7 separate regions of the Homo sapiens genome follow, and all the other regions are linked to region 7. The links are contacts of gene promoters, found by promoter capture Hi-C in blood cells and fetal thymus (Javierre and others, 2016). All regions are on one chromosome and are shown on one strand. Each heading gives the region's core, a stretch centred on a gene start or on the middle of the fragment in contact. The rest is flanking DNA. Distances are from core to core; before and after follow the strand shown.

Region 1 (2,809 bases), core at 269-2,768, 450 kb before region 7:
GCTGAACTAGCTCTGGACAGTCCCCAATGACACCTAGCACTTCACCCAGCCAGACAAGCACCAGCTGAAGCAGGACATCAGAATCACATGCAGTATCTGCCATTTCCCGAGCCTGTTCCTTCCATTTTTTATGCAGGAAGTTCTTGACAGTTCTTTTGATGCATACATCTAATGGCTGAATTTTGGAGCTACAGCCTGCTGGGACCACTGCAGGCAAAGTGCTAGAGGCACTAAGCATAGCCAGTACCTCTTCTGACAAGTGAGTGCGATGACAGTCCATCACAAGCATGCCTTTGCTGCGCTGGCAAGCTGTGTGCTTCTGCCACACTCGAGTTGACCACAGCTCCATGATCTCGTCATCACTGTAGCCACTCTCCTTTGCCTCTAGCAATATGGAGTCTGGCATGTTAGCAGGCTGATCCATCTGCCCTCTGTAGAAAACCAGGGTGGGAAGGACAGTGCCATCTGCCAGAATGGCTAGGACTACATCACACCAAGGTTCCCCTGTGCCCACTGTCTGCAGGGCATTCTCCTTTCGATCATCACTGCTCAGCACCTCTGTATCCAGGAACAAAGAGATCTCATCAATAGCCACAATCATAGACAAGGGTAAGTCCTGGTTGTGAATCTGCCGTTGTACAAAATCAATGAAGAGTCCTGCATTCTCTGCTACATCCTTAGGTAGGGTGTGGGCCACAGCTCGCCGGGCATGGGGAGTCAGGTGGTGCCGCAGCATGAAACGCACAGCCCACTCATAGGAGATCTTAAACCCCCCTTCCAAAGAACGTCCTATTTTGGTGGCCTTCTGGAACAAGGTCTCCTCATTTACAGGTAGCTGTTGTTCGCGCTGGGTTAGCACCCACTCAGCCAGTTTCTCTTCTGCCTCAAAGCTCAGATATTTGCCCTCTAGATTCTCCCCCTGGGAGGCCTGGAAACGTCGAAGCCAACGGCGAATACGTCGCTGGGGATTTCGGAAGTGTTCAGCTGCCTGTTCTGTATTGCAGCATAGAGCAAACAGTACTACTCGAAGCTTCTTCACAGACAGCTGCTCCTTTTTGCCAACTCCACCACTACCACCACCACCTGATGCTAGCTCAGGTTCTTGGGTGACTGGGCTCCCTTCATCCTGATCATCAACATTCAGACATTCGGCTCCCTCTGTAGCCAGCGGTGGAAGGGCTAAAGCCTGCGGGTGAGTGGGGGTTGGTGGTGGGGTTGCAGTTGAGGCTGGTGATGGGAGTGCTGGGGCTAAGGGAGTTAGTAGCTCTTCAGGCTCAGCTGGGGTGGCCCCCGCAGATTTCACAGTGGCAGCTTTGTTAGTGGGGAAGGAAGGAGGAGGGTACATATTCTTCACGTTCCGGTCATGCACTCGGTCACGAGTCTGGCCATGCCTAAAGGGGTGAGGAGCAAAGAGAAGAGGAGAAATCTCAGTTCAACTAGGAAATTGAAACAATAATATGATAATAATAATAATAATAACAGAGTAAACACACTGCAAACCAGAAATTAAATTGTGAGGTGAGTTTTTGTTACCTTGAGTGAGCTATCCAAGTGAGTCCTATGGAAAATGAAACAACAAAAATAGTTAGCTCAGTGAAAAAATAAGCCCTCCAAAGACAGTGCCCTGGGATTCAACTTACTACATACAAATACGCTGTTCGCAGTGACCAGCTTTCCCAGTTTTATATAAACTTCAGGTCGGAAGGTTTCTAATTAGGTCCAGCACATCTCAACAGTGAATGAGTGAGGCCAAGTAGGTATGCTCCTGATGCATACAGTACGAACCTGTATCTTTTTTCCTCCCCTTGCTCAACTAATCCCCTTCTCTCCTACTTACCCCGTGGCAGGATGCTGCTGGATCTGTGAGAGGGGTTGAATACCAAATGCTTGGCCATAGCATCGCCCACAGAGGTAACAAAGGTACATGAAGTGCAGGCCAGCTTGATTCCACTAAAAAAGAGAATTGAGACTATGTAAGACAAACACAGCAGTGACACTTGAGACCATTAAGCTTTGAGGCTTAAGAAAGAAAAGGAATGCCCTCCCACTTTCTCCTTTTTCTGAAATTAATTCACATAACCACCTCTCCAAATAATGAAAAACCTGAAAATTAATGTAAAAACCTGAAAAATTAAGATGCTGCCAATAAGTTTTTTCTTACCTCACAGAATTTTTAAACAAAGCCAAATACTTGGGGCTCTTCCGTGGAACATGATTGCTGAGAAAGACAAAGAAGTGGTATGAGTTACGGAGTTCTGCTGGCTAAGCTAGAGATCACCAGCCAGTGACAATGCCCCCAACAAAAGAGACACTTCTTCAGTGCACCCTAATCTCAACCTAAGCCAGTTTTCCTGTCACCATGCTTCTTAAACTTTAATATGCATACAAGTCACTGAGGATCTATTAAAATTCACATTCTGGTTCAGTAGGCCTAGGGCGGGGCTGAGAGTCAGCATTTCTAACAAGCTCCCACCTAATACTACTGGTACTTGAATAGCAAGGCCCTATGAAATTAGAGCACAGACCATCAAAACCGAAAAAACAGAGCCTCTCACTCTGCTAGGAGAGAAGAACAAATAGCTCTAAGAGTTGAAGGAGGAAACATATTAGAAGCAGGGGAGAAAATGAAATGAGTGCTCAAGAATCTGGCTGGGGCCGGGCGCAGTGGCTCATGTCTGTAATCCCAGCACTTTAGGGAGGCCGAGGCAGGTGGATCACCTGAGCTCAGGAGTTTGAGACCAGCCTGGCCAACAAGGTGAAACCCCGTCTCTACTAAAAATACAAAAAAATCAGCCAGGCATGGTGGTGC
Region 2 (2,958 bases), core at 391-2,890, 380 kb before region 7:
CATCAACACTCTCACCCACACATACACTTGGGCTACTTTTTTTTTTTTTTTTAAGATGGAGTTTCGCTCATTACCCAGGCTGGAGTGCAATGGCACCATCTCGGCTCACTGCAACCTCTGCCTCCCAGGTTCAAGTGATTCTCCTGCCTCAGCCTCCCGAGTACCCAGTAGCTAGGATTACAAGTGCCCACCACCACGCCTAGCTAACTTTTTTACTTTTAATAGAGACCCCATCTGTATTAAACCCCTTTTGCCATGTTGGCCAGGCTGGTCTTGAACTCCTGACCTCAAGTGATCCACCTGCCTCGGCCTCCCAAAGTGCTGGGATTACTGGCATGAGCCACCGCACCGGGCCCAATTTGGGCGTTTTAATCCAAACGTTAAGCTACTGAAAGTGGCCAGATTGGAGTGTGTGTAATGGGGGGAAGAAATGGGTGTAAAGATAGAAAGTTTCAGTCACAAACTTGTTAGCATGACAGAGAGCTCCCCTACTTGAGAAGGGACAAAGTCAATTCAAGACCTTTGGGCTTTCTGGCTGGATGCGGTGGCTCATGCCTATAATCTCAACACTTTGGGAGGCCAAGGCAGGTGGATCACCTGAGATCAGGAGTTCGAGAACAGCTTGACCAAAATGGTGAAACCCCGTCTCTACTGAAAATACAAAAATTAGCCGGGCGTGGTGGTGTGCGCCTGTAAATCCAGCTACTAAGGAGTCTGAGACAGGAGGATTGCTTGAACCCAGGACGCAGAGGTTGCAGTGAGCTGAGATTGCGCCACTGCACTCCAGCCTGGGCAACAGAGCAAGACTCCATCTCAAAACAAACAAACAAACAAACAAAGACCTTCAGGCTTTCATATAACCTATATGGGTGGATGAAATTTTAGAAATAAATAATAAGGGGAAAAAAGATAAATAAAAATTCAAATTTTAAAATAAAGTAAAATAGATCCATGGGGGTATCTGATGACATGATATTCCAGCAACTCAGATTTCTCTGGGACTCCACTGGAGACAGATCTTTCAGGCACATTTGTAATATGTCCACTGCCCAGGGGACAGGATAGAAGAGCCATAGAAAAAAAGGGAACTTGGCAGAATTGCCTTTGTATAACTTTCTTTCAGTAAAGAAAGTTATAGCTTTCTTTACTGAAATAATAGCTTTAAAGAGACAAATTATTCACAAATCATTAGTAGGAAATGTTGAGATGAGATGATAAGCAAGAAAGGTAATTAAAGTCTGTACTATTCTTAAAATGAAATACTGTCTAAGTATAGAGGAATAAATTAGATGACTTTTCAACCTTTCCAATCTAAGCATCCTTAAAAAGTTCCACTGTCTAGCACAGTGGTTTTTAAACATTTTTTGACAGCCACCCACAGTAAAAAGCATATTCTACATCTTGACTGGCTACACACAAACACACAGTACTTTTCATGATTCAGATTGTATGAAAGACTACTGATATTCACTATGTGATAGCTTTCTATTCTCTTTTATTACACCTCTTTTTTTTTTTTTTTTTTTTTTGAGACAGTGTCTTGCTCCGTTGCCCAAGCTGGAGTGCAGTGGCTTATAAAACATGGCTCACTGCAGCCTTGAACTCCTGGGCTCATGCAATCCTCCTGCCTCAGCCTCTGGAGTAGCTGGGACCACAGAAGTGCACCACCACACCCGGCTAGTTTTATTTTTATTTGTAGAGATGGGATCTCCCTATGTTGCCCAGTCTGGTCTCCAACCTGGGGCCTCAAGTGTTCCCCCTGCCTCGGCCTCCCAAAGTGCAGGGATTACAGCTTGGGCCACTGTGCCCAGCCCTTTCTTCCATCATTCCGTCCTCTCCTTCCTTCTTAATACTGCTTGTCAAACTGATTTTGCCACCCAGTTTGAAAAAGAAGGTCTAGAGGATTATCCCAATCATTAACTATTTCTGCAGGTTAGCTTACCTTTCCAGAATACAGAATAGAATTCAGCAAACTGCCTCAAAGAGCAGTTTCTAGATTTGACTTCTTCCTCTAGGGTTTATGAAGTCATCATACTGAAGTGACCTGGATTTCCCTATACGTGAACCTCATGACGTGGGAGCCCGGGGTAGGGAGGGACAGATAACATGAGAATCAATAGAAAGAACTGCAAGGTCTGAAGACAAGAACCATTTGTCTAGTGGAGTCTATTTTATATCCATTTTTTAAAAATCTCCATTTAAGATATTTAGCTTCAACGTGCACCTTGACCAATTAATCCAACAAACAAAACTCTGGCTTGGGGGCCCAGTTACTCACTTTCATGGAAAGAGACCTCTGTTTTTAGAACCAGGGATCTTGTGAGTCCCTCCCACGTCCCCAGCCCTTCTCTGGCCTCGGGTAACTTTTCCCTCCAGTTTGGTGGAAGGTTACATTAGAAGAAAATAGTCCCTACCGTCTAGAAAGTTTTCGGGGGGGGAAAAAAGGGCGTTGGACGTGCGGGTGGGTGGGTATACCGGGAGGGGACAGCTGGAGCCGCGAAGGCGCGGGGGCCCGCGGCGCGTGGGTGTGGAGGCCGCGGGGCGGCAGGAGGCACTGGGAAGCGGGGTGAAGAGCACCGAAGTCCAGAAAAGGGCAGTGTCCGCCCTGCGCTCCTCTGCTGGCGCCCGCAACCCGGGAGGGAGCGGCGAGGCTCCGAAGGGTGGGATTCGAGGTCTGAACCCTCGAGTGGGCTTGGGTTTTCAGGAGCCGCCTTTTCTTATTGATCATTTCTCTTTTGTCATCATAATCTCTTGGCCTCAGACTGAGTTAAGGGAGCCATAGTAGGAGTGCAGAAAATGAAGTGGAGGAAAAAAAAATGTGATATTTAAAATATAGTTTTTCCTACTTTCTTTTTCTCTCTCAAATTAATTTAGATGTAAATAACATTTTAACAGGGCCCAACATCAGGCTCCTAGGCTCTGGCTGCTGGTCTCACTTGACACCAGAATAAGATTTTG
Region 3 (2,736 bases), core at 32-2,531, 430 kb before region 7:
TAGCCACAAGGATTTTTTCCCTTCTCTGAAGTATTTCACCTATCAATGATATCTTAAAATGTCTATGTTTATAATATACTATCTTGTTCTCACATTTTCCTATATTTACATAATTTTTGTCTTTACAACAAAACTGGAAATCCCGTAAAGGACATGAGAAGTATTCTCAATACTGGGCTTAAATCCTCACTATGTATCCCCAGTAGAGGTGTATTTAGAGGTGTACGCTCATAAGCAAATGACTCAATTTCTTTGAGCTTATGTTCAGCCTACATCTATCTATAAAATGTACAGTGTAGAAAAACATTCCAGCTTACCTTATATTTCACTGAAAGCACTGTCTTAATGATAAAGTACTTCATAATATTATCTTTTTTTTTTTGGAGATGGAGTTTTGCTCTTGTTGCCCAGACTGGAGTGCAATGGCATGATCTCAGCTCACTGCAACCTCCGCCTCCCGGGTTCAAGCGATTCTCCTGTCTCAGCCTCCCGAGTAGCTGGGATTACAGGTGCCCGCCACCACACCCAGCTAATTTTTGCATTTTTAGTAGAGATGGGGCTTCGCCATGTTGGCCGGGCTGGTCTCGAATTCCTGACTTCAGGTGATCTGCCTGCTTCGGCCTCCCAAAGTGTTGGGATTACAGGCGTGAGCCACCGTGCCCGGCCATATTATCTTTTATCCTACTTAATTTCTTTGAGCTTATGTCCAGCCTACATGTATAAAATATACAGTGTAGAAAACACTCCAGCTCATCTTATATTTCATTGAAAGCAATGTCTTAATGATAAAGTACTTCACAATATTATCTTTTAGCCTACATAAAACCTATCAGGGTTTAACTAAAGTGGAAGAGCAAATAGATGACTGTTCCTTCTATAAAGAGACCTAAGAAATAAATTAATTACATTTGTTTTTCTACAGTGGTTCTGAATCAACGCCCCTAACAATTCAGGATCTAACACTGAACTCAATCCATGCTTGAACAAAATAAAAGTCAGGCTTGTAAAAAAAAACAAGGTGAATGAAGTAAAGAACTGGCTACAAATATGAAAAGTACTTCCTCTACACTGTTACCCACATGTAAATAAATATAATGGGCTCCCCCCAGCGCCATTCAATGAGTGAACAGCAAGGTATATTCCCCTTGAGTTTAAGAGTTTCCAAACTTACTAGTAGATTCATAGGGACTATGAACATTTTCCAAGTGGCACTGAAGCTGGAAGGGAGTGGAAAACTGGCGGTAACAGTGCTGGCAGATAGTGTGACCATCTACCTCACCGTTCTGCTGATCGAGTTCTACGTGGTGTTTCATATGGTTCATGAATCTGTAATAAAGCACAAAGAGAAAGTACAGAAAACATAAAAAATTGGTAGCCTTTTAGAAATATAATGGTAAAATCACAGAACAAACATTATCTGCTCCCCTCCATTCCCCAGACTTCCTGTTTGGGATATCCTTTTCTGAGCCCAGAAAGATAATGAGTTCTTGAAACTAAGAGAGTTCTGGGAAAGGAGACATACTGCTTTCCCTTACTCGATCCAGTTACCTTTTGTTTATTACCACAATATCTCCTTCTATAGTCCTAGTTATTGATTTAATGATAACCCCAGCAAGACTGCATAGTAGTTAGGTCCATTCTCCAAAGAGAAAGACTTAAAATATATAAGAAAATGTAAGTCTTCTCTTGTTCAAGGTAACTTCCAAGGCTCTTAAACACTTACCGAATATTGTTTTTTAGCCTTTTGGTACAATGTGGGCATCGGAAAGATGTGGCGACCTTAGGGAAATTTGTGAGCTGGGCTACTTTGCCACCATCCCGTCCATAGTAGAAGTCATCTACAAGCATAATGAGTTTGGTCTGGACGGCATCGCCCACGTTCTCATTTGGTTCTGGTACTTTGGTAGGCGGTGACAGAGCAGGAATAGGTGTAGAAGAGGGTGTGGAAGCAACAGGAGCTGTTTTCTCAGGGGATGGGGGCTTTGCTGCTGATGGGACACTGGGTTCTGAATCCAGGGACTTTCCTTTCTTCTGGTATTCAACCATTTCTGGGCAACAGTACTATAAAGAAAGACATCTGATCATTCTGGTTATCCTGGGGGCTAGAATGTGCTAACTCCTTAACTTCACTACCATTCCTTGTTAACGGTTTGGTTTCAGGTATTCTCATTCAGCTTTCACCCTTCAGTTTTTTTTAGCGTTTCCAAGTTTTACTCCTTTTCTAGAGTATATCCACATATGCCACCCAAGCGCTATACTTTGTATTTCTCCCTCCTGCCTGTCTTAGGTCCCTTAATCATTAGTATAACTTGGCTCTGAGCTCCCTGGCAAAGAAGAAGTTCCAACCTTTTTATCTGGACTAATACCAAAAAATGAAAAGCTAAAAAATGGAAGTAAGAGCTCCCGATTCATCCAATGACACAATTAACAAAAATGAACTGAGGCCAATATGGTTTGAGTCCTTATTATCTATAAACCTGTTCTCCTGTGTGGTTTCAAAATCTACCACACTAAGAAAGTAAGATCACATATGTTCTGATCTATTTGAGGGTCTTTAAATGTATCCCATCACATTCCAAAGTACACAGCTCTTCTAAAAACAGACCAAGAGAAACAGTAACCCTTTAAAAAGCTTCAGTCATTTTAGAGCCCCTGCTTACAAGCTTCCAATATTAATGAAGGTAAATGGCAGAAGCCACTTAAGCTGGATCACAGGTGATATCACTTACACACATG
Region 4 (2,750 bases), core at 164-2,663, 400 kb before region 7:
ATTTTCACTTAATATACATTTCTTAAGACATAGCAAAATAGTTAAATAAGAAATAACAAATTAAGGTGGATTATGTAGGCTACCAAGGAGGTACATTACTTTCTTCCATTAATCCATTATTTGACATCTTGGTAACCTAGGTGGTTTCTCTATTTTGTAGTAATTGTAACATGATTTTTTTGTGCACTCAATAGGTTTTACTTAACACTGCAGGCTCACACAGAACTATTAGCAATACTCAGTCTCTTGTCTCATCCTTCAATCCATAATATGGGAGTACCAGATAAATACTCTCCTGGAGGGAAGGGGACTATTTCTTAAATGCTGGCGAATATGGTAGTCTATACTAAGGCCCTATATGATCAGCTAGTCAATAAAAGTCTATATAATTGTAAAGGCAAGATAAAAACAGACCTTTTAAAACAATATACTATTTAAAAGCAGCAAAAAGAATCCTGCAGATACACCTGTATACTTTTAAGGTATTTAATGGGCAGCAAATGTTGCCTATCTTCATCTCAAAGAAAATGAGAAAAAGATCTGTTTTCCACAACTATCCTGACATACTTGGTTCTTGAAAGCTCTGAATTCCTTTGTCTTGTTCTTTCATAGCTGTAAAGTCCAGAAATGAAGAATGAAGAATTCAGAAATGAAGAATTTGGTATCTAACGTTTTCAACTTACTGCCAGTACATACCTGCCCAAAAATCAACATAAAAAGAACATTTGGAACAGGAAAAATATTTTACAGAAAACAAACATTTTAAGAATACCACTTTCTTGTTCCAGGGTGAAAAATAAACAATGATAATCCTCAACATAACTGGTAATTATGTTTTCAAGTTACCTCAATTTTTGGCTCTAAAAAGGACTAATACCAGAAAACCTATAGGGCTGAATACTTAATCTGTGTATAAAACTATAGTTAAACATGTAATAAGCTTTTATTTATCCAGTCTTTTGCACAGCCCATTTTGTCCCTCACAACATCTGTTATAGTACCTCATATGTAAGAATCATAAGGGTTTTAAGTAGTCTTAATAACCTAAAATTTCCAAACTCAAAATACTTTCCTCTTGTCTGGTAGCCAATCCTGTATCAAGAAACACCCAAATATTTAGTTCTGTGCTCTTTACTAAAACAAGTAAGCAACAAGTTCTCTTCTTTAAAGGGGTTCAATATTCAGGAGTCCCTTTCCCAAGAAAAATATCTATACTATGATGGAAAACTTTTCTTCAATGACAGCTGTGTGTTGCCTAAATTCCATTTCTATGCTTTCAATTTCTTTTAACTCTGCTAACACCTAGCAATAGGTTAGTGTCTCTTTTCTGCTCTCCTCCCCTTGGTTACATATAAAAATACGTTTTTCAGTTGGGCGTGGTGGCTCACGCCTGTAATCCCAGCACTTTGGGAGGCCAAGGCGGGTCGATCAAGAGGTCAGGAGTTTGAGACCAGCCTGATCAATATGGTGAAACCCCATCTCTAGAAAAATACAAAAATTACCCAGGTGTGGTGGCGCGTGCCTGTAATCCCAGCTACTGAGGAAGCTGAAGGAGGAGAATCGCTTGAACCCAGGAGGCGGAGGGTGCAGTGAGCCGAGATTGCGCCATTACGCTCCAGCCTGGGCAATAGAGCGAGACTCCATCTCAAAAAAAAAAAAAAGACAAGTTTTTGTGAATATGGCTTAATATCACAAACAAGAATACCAAAGAATCTATCAAAATGTTACCATATTGATATTATGGCAAAGGCATTAACCAGCTCTAGGATTTGTAATCAACCAGCTCTAAAGTTTTTATTTTACAGATAAGGTCAAAACAGTGGTTTAGAGAGACGAAGTAACTTCCTCAAGGTTACAGTTAGTAAATATCCCAGTTAGGATTCAAAGCAAGCTTTTTTTGCTTTAGAATTCTTCCCCAGGTCACTGCCTCTTCCATCAACTTCAACTATTTATAAATTCTCCCAAGTTCCCCAAGGGAGTTAGATTTGAATGATGTAAAGAGCAGAAACATAGGACTGACTGAATGATTCTCATTTTTTTGACTCTTAAAATTATTGAAGACGCCAAAGATCTTTTGTTTATGTGAATTTTATCTTTCCACATTTACCACAAATTTTTAAAATGTAGTATTTATCAATGTATTTTAAGACAAGCCCATTATAAGTTAACATAAATAACATTTCAACAAAAAATACTTTCCCTCCAAAAAGTGAGAAAAGTAACGTTGTTTTGCATTTTGCAAATCTCTTTTATGTCTAACTTGATAAAAGATGGTTGGATTCTCACAGTTACTTCTGCATTCAGTCTGTTGCTATATGTAGCTTTGGTTAAGTATATAATGAAAATCTAGTCGGAAAAGGGAGAAGTATTTTAATAACCTTTTCAGATAACTGTGTTTGGTAAATACTAAAACTCAACAAACGGTAGTTTCTTTCTTTTTTTTTTTTTTTTTTTTTTTTAATAAATAGAGACAGGGTCTCACTATGCTGACCAGGCTCAACTCCAACTCCTGGGCTCACACAATCCTTCCACCTTGGCCTCCCAAAGTGCTGGGATTACAGGAGTGAGCCACCACGCTAGGCCAAATAGTAGTTTCTTAAAGGACAGTTAACATTTTGGAATCTGAAACCACATCAATCCACTTTTTTACTGTTAAAATCCATTGCTATGTCTGGAATTTTCAAAGGATCTTTTGCCTTTGCTTGATTTTGCAACATCATGCATTGGTCATTTGCAAAGCCTAGATTTAC
Region 5 (2,933 bases), core at 306-2,805, 500 kb before region 7:
CCACTCTGTCGTGCAGCCTGGGTGACAGAGTAAGACCCTGTCTCAAAACAAACAAACAAACAAAAAACAAAAAAAAAGCCGGCTGGTGTGGTGGCTCATGCCTATAATCCCAGCACTTTGGGAGGCTGAGGTGGGCAGATCACCTGAGGTCAGTTTGAGACCAGCCTGACCAACATGGAGAAACCCCGTCTCTACTAAAAACAAAAAACAAAAAACAAAACAAAAAACAAAACAAAATTAGCCAGTCGTGGTGGTGCATGCCTGTAATCCCAGCTACTTGGCAGGCTGAGGCAGGAGAATTGCTTGAACCTGGGAGGCGGAGGTTGGGTGAGCCGAGATCATGCCATTGCACTCCAGCCTGGGCAACAAGAGCGAAACTCCATCTCTAAATAAATAAATAAATAAATAGCAAGCCAAATATGGATATAGACTGATGGAAAGATAGCCCTAACACCACTGTTTGGTATGAAGGAGAACCTAGAGCACTTTGGTTGCAAACAGAGTTTTGGGTAAGTTATCTAGCTTAAAAATTTGCAGATAACAGGGAAAAACTGGAAGCTTTAGTAAGGGGGGAGAAAGTATCATAGTACATAGTACCTAGTAAAAGAGATGATTTTGACAGCACTATAGAAGGTAGAGTTGAGTGAAAGAAAAGGCTAGAGATAGGAAAGAGGAAACTATTAATTTATGCCAGGCATTGTGTTAAGAGCTAGGGATACAAAGCTGAATAAGGTATGGTCCTTGCCTTGGGCAGTAACAATAAAAATTGTCCGGATAAGCATCATATAACAGCAAGTATTTATACAGAGCCTAATATGTGTTGGGGCCCGTTCTTTTTTTTTTCGAGACGGATTCTTGCTCTGTCACCCAGGCTGGAGAGCAGTGGCGCAATCTCGGCTCACTGCAAGCTCTGCCTCCCAGGTTCAAGTGATTCTCCTGCCTCAGCCTCACAAGTAGCTGGGACTACAGGCGCCTGCCACCACACCGGGCTAATTTTTTTGTATTTTTAATAGAAACGGGGTTTCACCATGTTAGCCAGGATGGTCTCTATCTCCTGACCTCGTGATCCGCCCGCCTCAGCCTCCCAAAGTGCTGGGATTACAGGCGTGAGCTACCGCGTGCGGCCTCAGATAGATACTATGATTATCCCCATTTTACAGGTGAGGAGACAGGCATTGAAAGGTTAATAATTTGCCCAAGATTACATCATAATTTAGTAAGCTATGGAGCCAGGATCTGCACCTAGGCTCTTTGCGTTGCAGCTTTTTTTTTTTTTCCTTTTTAGACAGAGTCTCACTCTGTCATCCAGGCTGTAGTGCAGTGGCTCCACTGCACTTGGCTCACTGCAACCTCTGCCTCCCAGGTTCAAGTGATTTTCCTACCTCAGCCTCCTGAGTAGCTGGGATTACAGGCGTGTGCCACCACACCTGGCTAATTTTTGTATTTTTAGTAGAAATGGGGTCTCACCATTTTGGCCAAGCTAGTCTTGAGCTCCTGACCTCAAATGATCCACCCACCTTGGCTTCCAAAAGTGCTGGGATTATAGGCGTGAGCCACCATGCCTGGCCTGTTGCAGCTTTTTCACTCTTGCTGTTTGGAGAGTGGGAGGGAGTGTTCCAGCATTTTCACTTCAACTGCTGGTGGACTCTGTATTCTTGTCCCACGACCAAGAAGAATAAGGTGTGTAGACACTGGAGAGTGAGTAAGGCAGTCAGATTTATTTATTTATTTACTTATTTATTTTATTATTTTTTTTGAGATGGGGGAGTCTCACTCTGTCACCTGAACTGGAGTGCAGTGGCATGATCTTGGCTCACTGCAACCTCCGCCTCCCGGGTTCAAGCGATTCTCTTGCCTCAGCCTCCCAAGTAGCTAGAACTGTAGGTGCCTGCTACCACACCCAGCCAATATTTTGCTTTTTGTTTTTTTTTTGGCGGGGGGGCGATGGAGTTTCACTCTGTTACCAAGCTGGAGTGCAGTGGCACAATCTTGGCTCACTGCAACCTCCACCTCCTGGGTACAAACAATTCTCCTGCCTCAGCCTCCCAGGTAGCTGAGATTACAGGCGCCTGCCACCATGCCCAGCTAATTTTTGTATTTTTAGTAGAGATGGTGTTTCACCATGTTGTCCAGGACGGTCTCAATCTCTTGACCTCATGATCTGCCCGTCTTGGCCTCTCAAAGTGCTGGGATTACAGGTGTGAGCCACCGAACCTGGCTAATTTTTTGTATTTTTAGTACAGACGGGGTTTCACCATGTTGGCCAGGCTGGTCTCAAACTCCTGACCAGCCAGAGTCAGATTTATTAAGCAACAGAAAAGCTCTCAGCAAAGAGGGGGCCTGAAAGAGGATTGCCAGCTATGAGGCTGAGTGGGAGGGTGAGGAGGGTGGCTTATGGACTGGGAAAGGGAGGAGTGTGCTGATCGGGCCTGCAGGCTATCTTGCAGAAAGCACCACTCAGAAAGAGGTATGATAGTGTAAAGAACCAGTTGGAGGCAGAAGTGAAGGCTTGGCTCAACAACTTGGCCTGGAACCAAGTCAGGGGCTGAAGTGAAAGCTTGGGCCAGGACCTTGGCCTGGAACCAATCAGGGGCTGAAGTGATGATTCACCCTATGTAAATGAAGACTCCCGCTGTGGCCAATCACAGAAAGGTAAGCATATGTAAAATAGATGAAAACTAAGAGACTAAGGTGTGCCAAAGAGAGTGAAATATGTCCAAAAAGGGAGTGGTATTTGTTCATCTGGGTTCCTAGAGTAGGTATTTCCATTCCAGGATGCGGGCTGTCACTTATCTGGGGCCTGCAGTTTAATTTTCAGGCTGTTCTTTGTTTGAAGGAGTTTTACCAAGGACCCACCTTAACTGCCTGCCTGACTGGTTTCTTCTTTCTCCTCTCTCATTTCATTCAGAATTTGCTCTTGGACACTATTATAC
Region 6 (2,826 bases), core at 315-2,814, 470 kb before region 7:
TCTCTATGAAAAAAAAATTACCTGTGGTCCCAGCTATTCAGGAGGCTGAGGTGGGAGGATCACTCAAGCCCAGGAGTTTGAGTCCAGACAGGACAACATAGCAAGACTCTCATCTCCTAAAAAAAAAAAAAGGAAAGGAAAGGAAAAAGAAGGGTCTGACTAGAACAGAAATTATGTATCTTGTTACACATTTAATGCACAAGAAGAAAAGATGAGGTGGGTTTGAAAACCAATTATGCAGACTGGAAGAGGTAGCAGCAACTTTGGTTACAAGGACACAGGTGACGCTTGCCATCACCAACACCCTCTCTCCAGCCTTTCTCCTGTGCCAAGCCTGGCTCCAGAAGAACTGAGACAAGAGCCATAAAATGGCTTTCATGCAATAATCTCCACCTTTACGAGGCCCACTTGGCTAGCACCCATTCATTTAAGAGTCCTGAGAAGAAAGAATTACATCAGTCTTGGTTAATGGCCCAAATTAAGCCATCAAACCCCTAATAAAGCTTCTATTTTGAACATGTTACAATACTTGAAATAAAATTTCCAAAGGAAAATAAAAGCCCTTCCATTTGGGGGCAGGAAGAATCTTTGGTCCCTGGGGTCATATCCCTGAGTCACAGTTTCTCTACTAAGGCTCAGGACGGGCAGAAACAAATCCCCTTCTTTGCGGAGCCCAGGCCTCCACTTTCTCACCTCAGCACCTGAATGCTGCCTGAGAAGAAGTTAGGGGATCCTTCTCCCAGTGTCCCAGAAGGACAGGAGGCCAGAGACTTTGGGAGACATGGCCTCAGGTCTACATGGAATTGGGAGGAGGCCCGGGCAGGGGCTTCACTGCCCATCCTGGATCTGCTGTCTCTTTTGCATCATATCCACCCGGCTGGTTTCCTTTACAATCTCCTCAGGGTCACGTCCATGTGCAGGAATGCTAAAAGTGCTATGTGGGATATGGGAGCCCCAGATTTCCTTTCTCACCTTTTCAAAAGGTGCTCAGAAACCAAAGTTTAAAAAGGCTTAAACTGAAAATAATAGCTGTTCCCAATATACAGTAATCTTTAACAAATCAATTGGAAAAAGATAAATTACACAAAGAAAAACATTCCAAGGATATGAAAATACAATATAAATGGCTAATAACCATAAGAAAACATACCTGGTCTCATTAGCCATTAGAGAAATGCTGGTTAAAGCAACAAAAAGATATGATTTTCAAAAATAAAAAGATTGATAATATTCAGGATCAGAAGGAGTGTGGGGAAAAGGACCACTCCTGTATTCTACTGGCAAGACTATAAAATGGTGGAACATTTTTAGAAGGAAATTTAGCAACATCTAGCAACATTTTAAATGGAAATCCACTTCTAGTGATCTACCTTATGGAAATCAATAAGTATATAAATATATAAATATAGGATGTTCATTGCAACAATGTTCTTAATAGTGAAAGGTTGGAAACAACCAATAGCAGAATGGTGAAATATATTATGGAACATCCATAGTATGAAACACCAAGCACCTTAATGTGTAGTTTTCTATATACCAACACAGAAGGATATCAATAAATACGGTGGAGGGGTGGGGGAAACCAGAAAGTATAATCTCATTTCATTTTATTTTTTATTTTTTGAGACAAGAGTCTCGCTCTGTCACCCAGGCTGGAGTGCAGTGGTGCCATCCTGGCTCACTACAACCTCCGCCTCCCGGGTTCAAACAATTCTTCTGCCTCAGCCTCCCAAGTAGCTGAGATTACAGGCATGTACCACCAAGCCAGGCTAATTTTTTTGTATTTTTAGTAGAGATGGGGTTTCGCCATGTTGGCCAGGCTGGTCTTGATCTGCCTGCCTCAGCCTCTCAAAGTACTGGGATTACAGGTGTGAGCCACTGTGCCCAGCCTCATTTTAATTAAAACTACATAAAAATTAAGCTATATAGTTTTAACTAGTTAAATTTATATTTATTTATTTATTCATCCATCTATACGTTCATAGAAAAGGATTTGGCTTATGATTGATGTCAGTATTTTGGGAGGCTGAGGCAGGCAGATTGCTTGAGCCCAGGGGTTTGTGACCAGCCTGGGCAACATAATGAGACACCGTCTCTACAAAAAATTAAAACAATTTAGGCCTGGCAGGCTCCTGTAGTCCTAGCTACTTCGGGGGTGGGGAAGGTGTGCTGAGGTGGGAAGATTGTTTAAGCCCTGGAGGTCGAGGCTGCAGTGAGCTGTGATTGCACCACTGCACTCTGGTCTGGGTGGCAGAGTGAGACGCTGTCTCAAAAAAAAAAAAAAGTAGGCCGGGCGTGGTGGCTCACTCCTGTAATTCCAGGACTTGGGGAGGCCGAGGCGGGCGGATCACGAGGTCAGGAGATCGAGACCATCCTGGCTAACACAGCGAAACCCCATCTCTACTAAAAATACAAAAAAAAAAAAAAAAAAAAAAATTAGCCGGGCATGGTGGCAGGCGCCTGTAGTCCCAGCTACTTGGGAATCTGAGGCAGGAGAATGGCATGAACCCGGGAGGTGGAGGTTGCAGTGAGCTGAGATCGTGCCACTGCACTCCACCCTGGGCGACAGAGCAAGACTCCGCTTAAAAAAAAAAAAAAAAACCTAAAGAAAAGGATTTGTAGAGATAAAGCTTCCCTTATCATGCCAAATGTAGCTAACAGTGGTTACCTCAAGAATTGGATTACAGGGAGCAATTTTTATTTTTCACATTATGTATCAATCATATTTTTAAAATTTTATATTAAGTTTGAAATACATGTGTAAACAATTGAAACAGTGAAAGAATACAGTAACATTTTTGCCTATAAGATGGGCAAAAAATTTAA
Region 7 (2,700 bases), core at 130-2,629:
TGATCCAGCCGCTAGACTTAGTCTTCTCCAGAAATTCTTGGTACAGGCTCAGCATGTCCGAACACCAGCTGGCATTGGGAAGAGCATAATCCTTCAAGTCTGTCTTCTCTGGCAAGAATCTTGAGAACTGGGCAGGAAAAATCAGAATGACTAGACAGCATCCTGGAGGGGGGCTGCTGCCTGGGCTCGGGACCTCTAAACAGCTGTTCCTGGGTGCTGGGGCTTCTCAATCCCTTCTGCCAGAGTATCGATCCAAGGGAAAGGGCCCATATTCCTTGCAGGGGGGCTGCGGACCCCTATGGGTGACGGGGCATAAGGATGCTAAAGAGCAAGGGAAGGGCGGGCAGGGAGTGGGGCCAGAGATGATGGGCATGCTGCTCGATGTGGTGCCTTACCCTTGTTCTGCTTAAAACATGTGAGCAGTTCTTTAAAGTTGACAACTGCTCATATTAGCCTCACTGTACAGATGGGGAAACTGAGGGAATACGGCCAAGGTTGCCAAGCATGTGACTGTGAGAGCTGGTGGTCGCACTAGATGCTGTCTCCTCTGCAGGGCAGGGTCACAGTTGTTGAGGACCATTCTAGCAACCCCCACCTCAGGGGCTACTCCAGCTCTGCCCACTGCTGTGGGCCTGCCTGGGCAGGGTGGCTCCTTTGAAACACATTTGGGCCCCCACAGAGGTGTGGTGCCATGGCTGGGGCACAGACTATGTGCCCATCTGTGTGACGTAAGGAAGTCCTCTGTAGCGTCACCTGCTCATACACCAGTCACAACTGTAGACAGCATGTGAGCTGCTTGCCAATGCCACAGATGGGGTCCTCTGTCTGGGGATACCCCAGCTTTGCTGCAGTAGTCTGAGTCCCACAGGAGGAAAGTCATTTGTTGGTGGCCACACAAGACACAGAGCCAGATGCAGGTCTCCTGGTAGTTTTAGTTTTGAATGGGGGCAACTTGGTATCCCAGAGCACTTTCTCTTTGCCAAATCAAATAGCTCCTCCGAACACTGCCCACCTGCCCTGGCCATGGGCTGGGAAGAGGAGATTTGGGGTGCTCCTTAAGCCCTAGGCTCCTGGGAAAACACTGCCCATCTGGCTGAGCTGGGAACTCACCATGGAGTCTGTGGAGGATCCAAATGCTGAGGCAGGGTTGAGTCTGGGCAGGATACGGGGGGCCTCAAGAAGGCCTCTGTGGTGGCCAAGTCTTGCTGCCACCTGGAAGCATCTCCTTATCATGGCCAAGTGCAAGGATCCAGCCCTGCTTGGATGGAGGGTCTTGGCTGACTCCCAAGGAGTGCTTTCAGCTGCACTTGGGGCCGCTTCTCTCCCTTCTGTTGCAGGCTTTCTTTCAGAGAGCTAGGCGAGGCTGGGCTGGTGTGCTGCAACACCCACAGATGCTCGGCGCCTTTAGCTGGTCTAGGAGCCCCACCCAGTGCTTGGGGAGGGACAGATGCTGCTTGGGCATGAAAAGGCAGCAGGACTGGCTTGAGTTGCAAAAGGAGTAAACAAGTACATAAACAAATAGTATGGGGTATATAGAGCCTTGGAGAGCTGCCTGGGGGTTCTGAGGGAGAATCCAAGAATATTTCCAGAAGGATAAGGGAAGCCTGTCCCTTGATTGGAGGGTGCTGGTGGAGTGTTCTTGGTATGTGCTCTGCAGTGTATACCGGACTCTGAAAACTCTGGTATGATTTTGTGACTCAGAAAACCAACTCACAGGCCGGGTGCGGTGGCTCACGCCTGTAATCCCAGCACTTTGGGAGGCCGAGGCGGCGGATTACGAGGTTAGGAGATCGAGACCATCCTGGCTAACACGGTGAAACCCCGTCTCTACTAAAAAAAATACAAAAAATTAGCCGGGCGTGGTGGCGGGTGCCGGTAGTCCCAGCTACGCAGGGGGCTGAGGCAGGAGAATGGCGTGAACCTGGGAGGTGGAGCTTGCAGTGAGCTGAGATCTAGCCACCGCACTCCAGCCTGGGCGACTGAGCGAGACTCCGTCTCAAAAAAATAAAAATAAAAAAATAAAAAAAAAGAAAACCAACTCACAGCCTTAGACACCTCTTTTTTTTTTTTTTTTTTTTTTTTGGTGAGACGGAGTTTCAATCTTGTCGCCCAGGCTGGTGTGCAATGGCGTGATCTCGGCTCACTGCAACCTCCGCCTCCTGGGTTCAAGTGATTCTCCTGCCTCAGCCTCCTGAGTAGCTGGGATTACAGACACACACCACCACACCCAGCTAAATTTTGTATATTTTTTTTAGTAGAGATGGGGTTTTGCCATGTTAGCCAGGCTGGTCTTGAACTCCTGACCTCAGGTGACCTCCCAAAGTGCTGGGATTACAGGCGTGAGCCACCGCACCCGGCCAACACCTCTTCTTATATCCCGGACAAGGGTTAGCACAGGAGAGTTTCACCTGCTGGTCTCTGGCTGGGGATAGGAGTTGGAGGTGGGGGAGGGCTTGACAGGGAGGGCAGAAAATAATTTGGGAGGAAACAGCTTGGCAGGGATACTCTCATGTTTTGGGAACCCCGTGCCCAGGGAGTGGCTCATGTCAGCAGGCAGTGCTGGGAGTGAGGTGGGCGCGGCAGTGAGGCTTTGTTGAGTGGGAAGGGACACTCAGCCAACATCTGCAAGGCAGTGGGATTTGGTGGTGGTGTGTCTTCTATTGAATTTAAACTGCCAATTTTCAATTAAAAGTCTCAGTT

What was found. Contacts are between HindIII fragments. The CHiCAGO score rates a contact against its expected background, and 5 or more counts as called.
Region 1: a fragment that was not itself captured here is called in contact with the fragment with the promoter of THEM5 in region 7 in 5 of 17 cell types (M2 macrophages, erythroblasts, M1 macrophages and 2 more); the score reaches 7.7 in M2 macrophages.
Region 2: a fragment that was not itself captured here is called in contact with the fragment with the promoter of THEM5 in region 7 in 4 of 17 cell types (M0 macrophages, M2 macrophages, activated CD4 T cells and 1 more); the score reaches 6.2 in M0 macrophages.
Region 3: a contact is called between a fragment that was not itself captured here and the fragment with the promoter of THEM5 in region 7, in 14 of 17 cell types (M2 macrophages, M0 macrophages, M1 macrophages and 11 more). The highest score is 10.8, in M2 macrophages.
Region 4: a contact is called between a fragment that was not itself captured here and the fragment with the promoter of THEM5 in region 7, in 14 of 17 cell types (M2 macrophages, M0 macrophages, M1 macrophages and 11 more). The highest score is 16.3, in M2 macrophages.
Region 5: a contact is called between a fragment that was not itself captured here and the fragment with the promoter of THEM5 in region 7, in 2 of 17 cell types (M1 macrophages and M0 macrophages). The highest score is 5.4, in M1 macrophages.
Region 6: a contact is called between a fragment that was not itself captured here and the fragment with the promoter of THEM5 in region 7, in 2 of 17 cell types (endothelial precursors and M2 macrophages). The highest score is 5.7, in endothelial precursors.

Annotation. Positions count from the first base shown.
Region 1 is chr1:151,405,074-151,407,882 of GRCh38, forward strand. It overlaps POGZ (pogo transposable element derived with ZNF domain), which reads right to left. Exons shown (of 19, transcript NM_015100.4): 16 at 2,162-2,218; 17 at 1,838-1,950; 18 at 1,534-1,558; 19 at 1-1,391. Among named protein-coding and RNA genes, the nearest start is that of PSMB4, 6.9 kb to the left of the region's middle. The HindIII fragment of the contact is 981 bases long and covers 1,029-2,009 here.
Region 2 is chr1:151,470,982-151,473,939 of GRCh38, forward strand. No RefSeq gene overlaps it. Among named protein-coding and RNA genes, the nearest start is that of POGZ, 13 kb to the left of the region's middle. The HindIII fragment of the contact is 4,139 bases long and covers 1-2,958 here.
Region 3 is chr1:151,422,226-151,424,961 of GRCh38, forward strand. It overlaps POGZ (pogo transposable element derived with ZNF domain), which reads right to left. Exons shown (of 19, transcript NM_015100.4): 8 at 2,730-2,736; 9 at 1,724-2,061; 10 at 1,172-1,326. Among named protein-coding and RNA genes, the nearest start is that of PSMB4, 24 kb to the left of the region's middle. The HindIII fragment of the contact is 2,697 bases long and covers 1-2,630 here.
Region 4 is chr1:151,453,460-151,456,209 of GRCh38, forward strand. All of the region lies in intron 1 of POGZ (pogo transposable element derived with ZNF domain), which reads right to left. Among named protein-coding and RNA genes, the nearest start is that of POGZ, 4.7 kb to the right of the region's middle. The HindIII fragment of the contact is 951 bases long and covers 939-1,889 here.
Region 5 is chr1:151,349,661-151,352,593 of GRCh38, forward strand. No RefSeq gene overlaps it. Among named protein-coding and RNA genes, the nearest start is that of RFX5, 3.9 kb to the left of the region's middle. RefSeq lists a silencer at 1,540-1,740. The HindIII fragment of the contact is 1,999 bases long and covers 557-2,555 here.
Region 6 is chr1:151,377,289-151,380,114 of GRCh38, forward strand. No RefSeq gene overlaps it. Among named protein-coding and RNA genes, the nearest start is that of SELENBP1, 6.0 kb to the left of the region's middle. The HindIII fragment of the contact is 2,127 bases long and covers 502-2,628 here.
Region 7 is chr1:151,852,333-151,855,032 of GRCh38, forward strand. THEM5 (thioesterase superfamily member 5) reads right to left here and starts at 1,380. Exons shown (of 6, transcript NM_182578.4): 1 at 1,111-1,380; 2 at 1-127. The coding sequence starts at 1,233. The HindIII fragment of the contact is 9,012 bases long and covers 1-2,700 here.